Regions from separate parts of the Homo sapiens genome. Here region 2 is linked to region 1. Evidence: promoter capture Hi-C in human tissues and cell types (Jung and others, 2019). All regions are on one chromosome and are shown on one strand. Each heading gives the region's core, a stretch centred on a gene start or on the middle of the fragment in contact. The rest is flanking DNA. Distances are from core to core; before and after follow the strand shown.

Region 1 (6,662 bases), core at 2,987-5,486:
CAGTTCTGATCTTCATACTCTTAGCAGTTTTAGAAGAGCTGAGAACAGTGACCTGCTTTTTCAACCATTATATTTCTGAGACATGACTAATTTGAAGCTGAGCAAATTGCACATAATGGGATTCAAGTTCATGATTTTTAGTCTGCACTCTCTTTTCAGGGTACATGGTCTCCTTCCCTCCCTGCTTCTACCACCACCCCCAAAGCTGCCTTTTCAGGAGCTAAATTCACCCAACATGAAATCAAAAGAGAATTATTTTTAAGTTTTCTGCAGGCTTATTTTTAAGGAGGATAAAGTTATATTTTTAAAAATATTTATCTTTTCCTTCAGGTACTACCGCATTTTTAAATAATTTCTAAATATTTAGAATGTATTTAGATGTATTTAGAATAGTAGATGTATCAGATGTATGGTTTCATAGTGGCTCAAAGTTTTTAAAAAAGCATTATATAAATCAGTGAATTTATAAATACCCTAAGTTCTACTATGTAAGATGTTGCTTTCAGAGCCTTTTTGCAAAATCCCATTAAAGGTTTAGCTTACAGACACTGGTGCCAAAAAAAAAAAAAAAAAAAAAAAAAAAAGCAAGCAAAAAAATGTGTTTTTTTTTGTTTTTTTTTTTTTTTGGTAAGAAGGATGTTGAAATAGGAGAATATTTAAGCTGGCTAAACCAAAGCCAATTCCTGGAGGCTAGTTGCTTTTATAGTGAATGTTTAAATTTTCTCCATCAAATCTAGAAGGCTACAACGAAACAACAGCCTAAATGTCATGTACAATTCTCTAAGTACTGAAAGAGTTACACAATTTTAGAACCGAAAGGGACCTTAAACTCCTTCCTCTACCAATGAGGAGCCTGAAGCCTGCTAGTTAACTCACTTGCCTGGTCACTCTGGGGTTCACGGATTGTTATTGTTTGGTGGGGTGGTTGTTTTTGTGCTGTATATTTGTGTGTGTGGTGTATGCAGTACTCACACCCTTACAAACAAGAGCTTTGCCATTTATATTCTCCCCTTCCTAAGTTGCTCTTCCTAAGTTTACTTTCATCAGCAAAAAGAGTGATCAAAAAGAAAAATATATTCTGGCCAGTTCAAAGGGGACATTTCTTTTTCTCACTTGGCCTACTGCAGATATATTAGAGAGACACTTCACACCCAGGACAACTGACTTTTTAAGTGGCAATAACAATGAGCAGCGGAGGAGTTCTCTTCTCACTCGAGAGAGCAGAGGAGGTTTCTGAACTTTACCTTGACTTCCAGCCTACAAACTGTTCCTTCAACTACTGTCTCCGCTTGCCCACTTTGTTGCTATTCTTTCCTTAGTTTCCTTTGTTTTCCAGCTTAGGGAAGTTTGGTGGGAAAATTTTTCACTTACATTTTGTTGATATTTATTTCCCATATTTGGGTCCTACCCAAATTTTAGATTTAAGAGCAAAAAAAAATTACTGTTTAAGTGAAAGAGGAAAGGCTAAGTCACTGTTCAACATGGGCTAGATCTGATCTGAATTGGAGACACAGCCTTTGCAATTGAGGAAGGAGAGGTAAGCAGTAAACTTATACAGTTTCCTCCAAGAAGTGTTATACATAGATATTTTTCAAGGAAATTGGAATAAAGCAGTTTATTAATTGAGGGGAAGCTAGTTACAGTTAGCACCTGCCGCGGACTTTTTGAGGTTGTCGTCATTAACCAAATTCTTCGGGAAAAACAATCTTTGGCACCACTTACTCCAGACAAACCCTGTTTGGAACAGACAAGTGTTCTGACCCTATAGTCGCTCCAATGTCCACCAGCCACTCACGAGTGCCCTTAGGGCTTCTCCTTGGTGGTAGCATCCCAGAAATCCTACTAGTTTCAGAAGTGCCCTAGGAAGCCTACTTCTTGGATAATGGGCTCTGTCTGCAAAGCTAGGAGATCAGCCTAGAAAAAGAAACACACCAACAAACACCAGGAAACTATGTGTAATGGTTTGCTGCTTGTGCAAAAACCTCAAAGAGGATGAAGGTCAGACAGGGATAATAGGCCAATTTAATTCTGAAAGCACAAGGTGCAAGAAATTTTAATTATGGTCTGCCACTGAAATCACACAAGATCCAATGGCATCTAACTGCAACTGCTCATCAAGGGAGACAAGAGGTGTAATTGTAACCGCTGCATAATCACTGTGAGGGCACAGGGAAGGCTGCCTTCAGCTCCCAGCAGAGAAGGTATTAAGAGCCTCGAAAAATCCAATACGGGGAAACGAGATTGCATGTAGCCAAACAGAAGCTCCTAACACAAAAGCCAACCCGTGTGTGTGTGTGCGCGCGTGTGTGTGTGTGTGTGTGTGTGTGTTGAGGGTGAGGGTTCCAGAAAGAAAATGTGAAGCTGTTTGGCCCACACTGGGGATAAGAGATTGTTTGAAAACTCTGAACCCTTTTCTGTTTTGTGGATAAATGCACACAGAGAAAAGAGCACTGTCTCCTTTAGGTATTTCTCTCCTTGATGAAGCTTCACCCACTCTCCTTTGTTTAAGACAATTGGCTTGGATGTTACCGTGATTTACAGTACCAAACTCCCTTTAATTTGTTCCCATCAAACCCAAGTCTGGAGACAAAACGCCAAGCACACGACTGGAGGTGCCCAAGCCTGTGCAGCTCTGGCAGCGACGCCGCCGGCGCCCCCGGGCGTTTTCCCCGCACCCCACATCGCGTGGGCGCCCGTAAAGGCACGCGCGGAGAAAGCCCCTCCGTGGACTCCCCACTCCGCAAAGTTTAACAAAGCCGTGAAGTAAGGAAACCGAACCTCCCGTCCGCGCCCGCTGCAAAGTTGGCATTGAAGTTTGTGCCGGGATGTCCCAAATCTTGAGGGGGCGGGGGGCGCGAGTGTGCAGAGAGGCGGGAGGATGGATGCAGATGGGGAGACAGTGAGGGGAAGGGAGTTTTTCCGAGTGGACGGTCCGTGAGGCGGTTTTCTTCACCCGGAAGCCTGTTTGACTCAGAGAGGTCCGGGAGGTGCACGCCAGGGGAGGTCTCCCGGGGCGGGCGCTGTCGCCGAGGAGGCCGGCGAGCTGTCACCTGCGGGGGGCTGTGGTGGGAGCTGAGGGCGCTCTCCTAAGCGCCAAAAGAGGACGGGGACATTCACAGTCACCGGCTCTCGGGGCTCTAAGTAGTGGGGGAAGGGATATTCACGAGTGGGCAGGAGGCCAAAAGCAACACCTTTCGGATACGCTTTTCCCCTCCGACCTCTCCAACTTCCCGCGGCGCTGGTCAAGGACTCCCTCCCACCCCACCCCATCCCACCCAACCTCCCGGCCGACAATTCGGACCTGTCCACGGCAGAGCGTGGGGTGGAGTGCGGCGGGAAAGCAGAGGGCGCGAAGGTCGGGACCCCAAATTGCAAACCCTCAGCCCCTAGCAAAGACGACCAAATGCATTTACAACCGTGCAAGTATCTCAGCCTTGTAACAGAGCTCCGGGTTTGCGCCGGGCACAGTTCCCCGACTCTTCTGTTGTTCCTAATAAAGTCGATTACGTTGCCCTCCCGGAGCTGATTGGAAGGGAACCGAGAGGAAAAGGGGGGGAACGCGGGAAAAAGCGGGGGGGGGGGGGGGCGAGCAATCAACTTTGTAACCCAGCGCTTCCTCGCGCGATCCGTCGCCATGCTTAAGATTCCCACCCCCGCCGCCCCCCTCTTGCCTTTCAAGTGGATACTGAAACTAGGCCAAAACTTTTTCCCCTCCTTTTCTCTTAGCCACTAGACTGGATTGTGCCCCACGGAGCCCCATGGAGCTCTGCTTTCTTAAGCACAATAGCCGGACTAATTAGATCATAGAAGCAAGGCAGTGATACTGTAACAAGTAGCCCAAGAGGCAAAGAGGGAAGGGGCCCGAAAAGACAGAAAGGGGGAAAAGTTTGCAGCTCTCCGCACTTACCAATCAAGCCTCCCACCAGAAAGGCGATGATTTGGAACACGAGCAGAATCCCACCAACAATGCACAGCTTCTTGGTGCTCATGTTTTCTATAATTGCCCCAGCCATTTTTGCGCCCCCCCTTTTTCTTTTCTCCTTGAAATAAATGTTTTAGGGTGAGCTTTTTGCTCCCTCCTCTCACACACTCCCTCCTTCCTCGCCTCCTTTCTGGGCGCTGCAAAACTTCAGAGGTGCTGGAGCGCGGCGAGGATGGGACCGGGACGGAAGGCGCCCGCACGGATTCCCCCGGCGCAGCCGGCTCGGGTTCCCCCAATGCCCGGAGCTGTGATTGTGGCCGCTCCGCCGCCTGTGGACGCTTAAAGGAGCAGGGAAGCGGATCACATGACGCCGCCTCCCTCCCTTTCTTCCTCCCTCCCTCTCGCGCTTCCTCCCTCCCTCCCTCCCTCTCTTCCTCTACCCCTTGCCCACCAGTTCGGGGCTCAGAGCTCTGGCGGGTGCTGGCGCCTGGCTCCCGAGTCTGGCCTGCAACCTGTCTCTCCAAGGTCTGATGCCATTTAGGGGTTGCTGTTGATGTTAAGCGGGTTCCCCCTGCCCAGCTTCTCACAGGTTTCCTTTTCTGGTTTCCGAAGTGCGAGATTTAAATCACCGGTGGACCGCCTTGCAGACCTTTAACTTACGCGTTGACTTTAGGAAATGGTCCCCACCCCACCCCCAACTGCTAGAACTCTCTTTAGGAAAGAGGAGGAGAATTTTTTTTAAAAGGACCCAATAGATGCCTAAGTCAAAACACAGAGATGCGGAATAAAGTCTCAGCTCGACTTCTTTCTACCAGATTCCCAGCCTCGGTTATTGGGCACATACCCAGCTAAATTCCCCACGGCGCCCCTTGAGGAAACTTGCTCTCCAGCCAAATCAGACCACTGTTCGTTACTCCAGCACATGTGCTTCCACAGCCTTAACCCTGGTTATTGCCTTAAAGAGAACATGTTCTACTCCATCAATGTTAAACCTGATCCAAAACCAACTAGTGTTAAAAAATCTTTCTAATTTTCCACACCACCTCCATGCAGTATCTCTGGGAACTGAGCCCCTACAATCCTGTATTTACATTTTTACCTCCTATTGTAAGGATTTGTGTACACGTTTGTCTCCACCACTGAGCTGTAAACTCCTGGGGAATAGGGACCAAGTTTTTTTTGTTCTTTGTACCCCCCATGGTGCCTAACAAAATGCTAGCTCTAGTAGGTGCCCCATAATCTTTTGTGGAATGAATAAGTGAATGTGAAAGCAAGCCCACAGTTTGTATTTCAAAGGTCTAAAGAGATCTTAGTTGGTTTAGAGGGTACCTATATTAAGTTACAATGTTTGTTGTCTCTTTGTGAGAAATCATATATTTATATTTATACTTAACTTCCATAAAAAGAGGGGCGGGGCTCCCGATAGAGATTTCCTGCTCTATCAAGCCTAAATTTCTGGGCCTGGTTTTTCCATGTTTCATAAACTGGCCGCTTGGCCAGTACAACTCACCTTACTCAATAGACCCTTGGTTTGGTAAATACCCCACCCTGCTCCCCAAACGTGCAGTTTCTACCACCACCACCCACACATCTTGTTTCTTGTCCCTCCCATCCTTACACACCCTCTTCATGCCAAGAGACTATTTTTCCCAGTCCTCTCTCCTCCTCTACTCTGTTCCTGAATTTTCATTGCCCTTATAAAAGATGTCATGCAGGTTACACTTAATAGAAGCATTCATTTCTAATCTCCAAATAGAACAGAGACTTGTCAAGGACAAGCACCAAACTTTATGCATACAAAACTCCATCTCTTCAACATCTAATAGTTCTTAACAGTTCTGAGGATATACACATCATTATGTGTCACATAAGGATGTTTCAGTCAACAACAGACCGTGTGTGTGACAGTAGTCCTATAAGGTTATAATACCATATTCTTACAACACCTTTTCTATAGATATGTTTAGATACACAGAGTGCTTACTATTGCATTACAGTTGTCTACAGTGTTCAGTACAGTAACATGCCAGACAGGTTTGTAGTCTAGGAGCAATCAGCTACACGGTGTAGCCTAGGTCTGTAGTAGGCTATGCTACCTAGGTTTATGTAAGTGCCCTCTATGACATTTGCACAATGACAAATCACCTAACAACACATTCTCAGAAGGTATTCCCATCATTAAGCAATGCATGACTGTGGTTGCTGTTTATCTATTCTCTCATTCAACTCTTTATCCAAGTCACTTATTGAGCCTTTAACATGTTCCAGGCTTTCTTTCTTAAGCACTCAAGGATACCAAGATGTCAAAGTACTTGCACCTGCCCCAGAGGAACCCCCCCCCAGTCCAAATGTTATTCACTGAATAGTAATTAATTACCTCTACTTTGGCAAACACCAGGTACTATCAGAAAGGATGAAGTAGACAGAATTGTTGTCCTTCCAATGTCCTTCAGTTCAAAGTACTCAGATACCTTGGGGTATCATGTTCTGAGCCCAGCACTCCTAAGGGCCCATTTATCTTTCCTAAAAGTCATTTGTTTTCTCATAAATACACTTCTTCTCCTATTAAGATAGAATATAAGCTCCAAATTCTATTAACAACTGCCTCCTTGAGTGGTTATGAATGCCCACATACATTTGATATATGTGAACAAAAATTTGTCTTTTGCCTTGCTAATCTGTCTTTTGTCAGTTTAGTCCACAGACCCCCAAGCACTATGCATAAGAGGGTAGAGAAAAA
Region 2 (6,662 bases), core at 2,108-4,607, 410 kb before region 1:
CCGCCATCTCACTCATAATCAAAAATATTTCAATGGCTCTAAATTACCGTTGTGCAGAAACCAGCTTAGCAAAAATAAGAAGAGCTGACACTTTTATGGCCATTGGCTGTACGGAACCGGGACATCCAATACATTCCTGATGGGAGGGCAAAATGGTTCAATCTTTCCGGAGGGGTACTACAGAGCACTGTGATTCAGCAGTCCCACTTCTGGGAATCAATCCTTAAGTACACCTTCACAAAGCAAAATGATTTATTACATCTTTATTCATCACAGCACTGTTTGTAATAGCAAAAGACTGGGAAACAGCCCAAAGGTCCAGCAGTAGAGATTGGTCAAATAAACCATGGTACATCCACATGATGGAAAACTTGTTATTCTGTGTGTGTGTGAGAAAGAGATACTTGCAGAGACAGATGTCTAAAACATACCACTAATTTTAAAAGGTAAGGTAAAGAAGAGTATATACACCACCTTTAATGAGAGAAGGGGGGAGAATTAAAATACCATATATTCTTATTTGCTTGTGTTTACAAGTTGCTACTTGCAGAGAATATGGGAAAGGCATGGATGGGGATAAGATGGGAGCAAGGTTTTTGAATTTGAAAACTTTTGATTTTTGTGAATTTGCTATTTAAAGAAATCCTGGGGCTGGGCACGGTGGATCAGGCCTGTAATCCTAGCACTTTGGGAGGCTGAGGCTGGCAGATTGCTTGAGTCTAGGAGTTCGAGACCAGCCTGGGCAACATGGTAAAACCCCATTTCTACAAAAAACACAAAAGTTTGCCAGGTGTGGTGGCAGGCACCTATAGTCCAAGCTATTCAGGAGGCTGAGGTGGGAGGATCACCTGAGCCAGGGAAGTCGATGCTGCAGTGAGCCATGATTGTGCCACTGCACTCCAGCCAGGATGACAGACTGAGATCCTGTCTCAAAAAAAAAAAAAAAAAAAGGAAGCAAGAAAAGAAAAGAAATCTTGTAGGGAATTCTTGTAAGAAATTGTCAAAAATGTTTACCTTTGTATATGGTTATAATGTTTCTTGAGGATCATATATTATATATTTTCAAAAATATTGAAGTTGTATAAGCAATTTTCCCAGAAGTGTGAAGAACAGGACAAGATTGGCATGGAAGAGATAAAGCTAAGGTGGAGTTCAACAGCTCAGGAGGAGGAGTCGAAGAAACCTGGGTTTAGGCAGGTAGGTTCTCATGTGAAAGTCAGTCAGAGAAATCTCAGTCCAGAATTCAGGAGGTAAGCACAGTGAGTGTGGAGAGGGTAATTTCTGCCCTGTGTTATATTACCTGCTGGATGTGGGTGGCTCTGAGCCCCCGGATATTTATTACAGCCATAGGAAGTCAGAGAACTGTAGGTGAATGGGAGGCAAAGATAGGAACACTAGGATTACCTTCTAGGCAGCCTGCCAGGAGCATTGATTTGCTCTTGGATAAAGCATGCTGCTCATCAAATATTTATGTTAAAAAAGAGGGCAAGGCATGTGCTGGAATATTCTGCTGAATTTGACAGAGATATTCCTTGAAAACTTGAGACTCCTGGAATTTTGTGTAATCAAATCATACTATAAACACAACAGGTGAATTTGCTATTTAAAGAAATTCTGTAAGAAATTCTTAGGAATTGTCATCTTCTGCTCTTTCTGCTTTGGGAATCTGAGTATGTCTGAAGATAGCTGCATTTAACCAGGTTAAATGTGAAAGGCATTCACGTTTCTGCATCTTTTAGTTTTTTTCACAAGGTGTATTGTCTCCAGAAAACAGCAGATGGCCTAGGTCCGAAGTATGAACCAGCACCTTGATCCTCAGGACCACTGCCTTAGCAGTTAGATTCACTAAACATGGCTGATCCTACAGGCTGTGCAAATGCCTCCCAGAAGAGGAGCCAGGAGAAGGAAGTTGATTCTGGCTACAGGCTTTCTAAAGGATCAACTTAAAAAAGCAAGAAAGTAGTACCAGTTGGTACTAAGGGGAACACAGACAAACTCTCTGAGTTTGTGGTACCTTTGATAACAAGACTCCGCACCTTTTAACCTAAACTAGAAGCCTTTTTCCAGAAGCAGCAGCTACTCATAGGTAAGTTCCAAAGGCTCCTGCAACCACTGTTACTTGCATCCTGTCCCCAAGGAAAAAGGCCTACGGCTGGTCAATAAATAACATGAATCCCTCTCCACGTTCCCAGGAGTTACTACTACTCCATTCCCTGCACCAGGCCAACTACACAACGGGTGCTGGTGACCCTGGCAAGTATTAGGCAATACTGAGCATGCTGGTGTTTAAGTAGCAATAAACAATGTCAACAGCACCCAAAGTGCTGGTCTTTACCTACCCCTCAGAAATAATGAATTGAAGAGAAAGAAACTCATCATAGGCAATGTGTACCACTGAATGTTTGTTTCCTAGCATATATAATCAGTATTACTTTTTTACATGTACCTTGCTGACATACCACAGAAAACATGGTTTTATTCCTTCATTCCACTGACATTCATGAAGTTTATATGTTTCCCAATAAAGCCTGACATGATAAACCAAATGGTTAAGTGACAGACTCTGCCAGCTGATGGCATCTAGAGGACTACTGTGGCTACAGGGGCTTTGAGAAGCAGAGCTGCTGGTAGCCATATTGTGCCTTTGTGTGTGTTAAAAAAAGGCATTCCTTCCATGTACACCTAGACTTTTGCAGGCTTGATAGCATCAGAAAGAAGTTCCCTTTTCTCCTAGCAGAGGCAATCCTACTCCAGGATGCATGTGGTTTTGTTTGTTTAGCAGATGTGAGCCTCCCATTTGCCTCCTTGCCCAGGCACTTTTGTGCAGTGAACAACCTGTATAACAGTTCAAGGTATCCCTGTCAAGAAGTCACAATCCATTCCTTCTGCTTCTTGGCCAGACATCCAACCCTCCCATGACAACTTATCTGCACAGCCAATCATGACCTTATATACCCACATGAAGCCCCATGGTCTAATGTGCAGGCCATGGTCTAATAATTCAGAAGATTTCATTAGTCTAGGCACAGCTCAGGCACCTAGTCTAAAGGTTACACCTTTCTAATTTGCCTGAGATTCTGGTTAAACTTGGTATGATGATGTTATCTCAATAAGGTCTTCAATAAGCCTCAATAAAGTCCAAGAGGCTTTTAGATTTTGATTCCTCTTTCCACCCTTAGATTTAGCTCATGTTGGGATTTAATGGATTTCAGTTTGAGTCTTCATTTGAGAAAAAACCTTATGTTTTTCCTCTGCAATAATTTATCCCCCCAAAACAACACAAAATTTGAGGTAACTGCAAGCTTGGGGTCTGAGTCAAAGGGTCCCAGTGGGGAGTTAAGGGTTTAGTGTCCAGTGGTCAAGGACGTCTTGGCTAGTGCCATCTGAAGCTAAATAAAAGCCTGATTATTTCACATCAATGAAGTTAAGATTCTGCCTCCAATGGGCTCATGTGAGTTTGCACAAAGCCATTCTGAATCAAGACAATTCTCTACACACAATGCAAGTGCAGAGATGGCAACTGATTCAGACTTCACTCCAGTGAGCATGTGTGATCACGCAAACTCAAGTTCAACCAGAGCTTATACTTCTCTCTTCGGTCAACTAAAGGGGATCCTATGTCAATTACATGACCTTGCCTGCAAGGGGAGTGGTGGCCTACTGTGTCAGAAAGCATACAGAATACAAAGCCTTCTGACTCTCTGGGCCCAAAGTCACCCACTTATTATACAATCAATGAAACTGAAAATTACAGAAGATTTTAGCAACCAATCTCTTAGAACTTCTAGATACTAACCCTCTGGCAGAACTGAAAGTATTAATTCTTAACAGTCTCCAACACTCCAGTTTTTTTTTTTATTTTTTTAAGATGGCATCTTGCTCTGTTGCCCAGGCTTGAGTACAGTGGCACGATCTCGGCTCACTGCAAGCTCTGCCTCCCAGGTTCACGCCATTTTCCTGCCTCAGCCTTCCAAGTAGCTGGGACTACAGGCGACCGCCACCACGCCCGGCTAATTTTTTGTATTTTTAGTAGAGACGGGGTTTCATCATGTTAGCCAGGATGGTCTCGCTCTCCTGACCTTGTGATCCACCCGCCTCGGCCTCCCAAAGTGCTGGGATTACAGGCGTGAGCGACTGCACCCAGCCAACACTCCAGTTTTTATTATACAGTAATTCTCTGAAATGCAGACCCATTAAAAGAAGACAAAAACCCTCCTTGTCACAGGATGGTAACCAGACACTTCACAACTGAGCACTTTTACGACACCCAATAAAGACTAACATGATAAACCAAACACTTAAGTGACATCAGATATGATTTTCAAGAGAGACTCTCCAATAAATGGAATAATCTAGCTACAAGTTATCTTAAGTCAAGTCACCTCCACCATCTGCCCTGGATCCATGCTACCTGTTAACTACTCTCCTGTCATTCCTAAGGGAGGAAAGTGGGGAGGTCAGGATCTGTGGGTATGTGCTGGTTCTAGAACAGGATTTAGCGAGTCAGTTCCTTCATCTGTACTATCCAGACCCCCTTTGGAAGTCCAGGGATGAAAGAGGTAGGCTTCACAGGGTCACCAAGGACTGGGCCTTTGTGTGCGCTTCAGGCCTGCTGGGTCTCAGCAGCCATTTGGAAGTGTTAACTGCTATGGCTAAAGAGTGGCAAGCCTGATGGAGAGGCACTGATGATTCTCCTCAGGAAGGTCACCTAAAAGGAGTCTCCTCCTCATGTTTCTCTTGATTAGTTTTATAGTTTTTAAGCAAAACTGACTCCATAAAGCCCACTTCACTCTCACCTCTGGCTGGATGCACCTCCATCTCCGTGCAGAGGGCATGAGATGTGGAGTTAAGATGCTTCTGGGTCAAATTCTGTCCTTGCAACTTGAGCAAGGTTCAGACCTTTAAGGAACCTCAGCTTCCTCCTCTGGGCTGTTGTGACAACTGAGCAAGACTGTATACGGGAAGAGTTTAGAAAGGGCTCAGGATATATAATATATACAATTGTGCTGTAATTAGTTTTTATCTATCCAACCTTCCTGTTAAACTAAGTGCACCAATATCTGCCTCATTACTGTCTTCCAGGTGTCTGATATACTGAAGGTGCTGTAAAAACGCAGCTCATCAAGGCAGGCCTGGATCTGGGAAGTCACAACTTCCATAAAGTCAAGGTTGGTGGACTAGGTCTATATGCAGATCCTAAAAACCCACTGGTAGACTTTTCAAATATTCTTCATGAAGATCAAACTACAAGCTTCTGAAAGGCCTTCTCTTTTACCGCTAAACAATTCTCACTGCAAAGGTTTTGACATTTAACCGAAGGACATTCAACTGCCATAAAGTTGGTGCTTTTTCCAAAACAACAATAAAATCCTGCTATTTGTAGTTAACAAGCCAGATTTGTTTTTTAGTAACTATTACGCAAATTTTTTTTAGTATTTGTAGTTAATAAACCAGATTTGTTTAGTAACTATTACACAAATGAATTATATTTTAGTATATATATAGGCGCATTGTGGAAAATAGGGGAAAAGCAGGTTGGGGGTGGGAGAGCACCATAATCCCATCACCAATTTGTCTGTATTTTCTTCTAGGCTTTTCTTATGGTTTAAAAATAATTTTTAAGCTAGCTGTAATTGTAATAACACAATGTAACTGTGCATACTGCTTTTCCCCATTTTAAACTGTAACAGACTTCATGTATTACTGATTTTTTAAAGTCTCTAATAAAAAAGAAAATGGAATTGAGATTTGGAAGAATTAACTTGTTTAACAAATTAATATTGCAAACCATTTCACATTTAAAAGACAAAATGATGATTGTCTAATTCTCTTACTTTTTAAGTACTATTTGGCAGGACTATTTAAATTACTGAGCTTTTTTTAGATTTGGGGGAAATATTAAAATTTTGTATAGCTGTTTTCCTGTTACAAAAATAATGCATGCTCATTATACAACATTTAGAGAAAATTTCAATAATTTAATGTTAACATTTATTGAATGTGGACTATGCACCAGGCACTATTCCAAATGCTATATACATAGATTAGCTCATTTATTCCTCACAACACTTATTGAAGCATAGATTAAGTAACTTGCTCACAGTCTACTCACCTAGAAGTATGAGCCAGAAATCATTATGTTATGTTCTAGGAGTGAAACGAATCAATAATTTACTCAATCAAATGCTTCAGTTGTTTCAGAGCATAATGTCATAGGCAAGAAACAATTAATAATCACACTGTACCCTTTATAGTTATTTAAAATTATTATAAACCACATCTCTGTGTCCCAGTGGAGCAATTAGTAAAATGAGAAATCATCTGTGGCATGAGCTAAGATCCTGGTTCAGCCCAATTCTGTGCACCTGACGTGCATTAGGACAAAAACAAGAAGCTTTAAAGGGTTTGTTTTAAAGATGGAGGCTTTTTTTTTTTTTTTTTTTGAGACAGAGTTTTTGCTCTTGTTGCCCAGGCTGGAGTGCAATGGCACGATCTCGATTCACCGCAACCTCCGCCTCCTGGGTTCAAGTGATTCTCCTGCCTCAGCATCCCGAGTAGCTGGGACTTCAGGCATGCGCCATCACGCCTGGTTTATTTTGTATTTTTAGTAGAGATGGGGTTTCTCCATGTGGGTCAGGCTGGTCTTGAACTCCCGACCTCAG

The links. Contacts are between HindIII fragments. The study calls those that stand out against the background at their distance.
Region 2: a fragment that was not itself captured here is called in contact with the fragment with the promoter of WLS in region 1 in 1 of the 25 tissues and cell types used here (hippocampus).

Annotation. Positions count from the first base shown.
Region 1 is chr1:68,228,287-68,234,948 of GRCh38, forward strand. WLS (Wnt ligand secretion mediator) reads right to left here and starts at 4,237. Exons shown (of 12, transcript NM_024911.7): 1 at 3,908-4,237. The coding sequence starts at 4,013. The HindIII fragment of the contact is 13,703 bases long and covers 1,023-6,662 here.
Region 2 is chr1:67,823,579-67,830,240 of GRCh38, forward strand. The region is part of intron 1 of GNG12 (G protein subunit gamma 12); the gene reads right to left. Among named protein-coding and RNA genes, the nearest start is that of GNG12-AS1, 5.4 kb to the right of the region's middle. The HindIII fragment of the contact is 7,209 bases long and covers 1-6,662 here.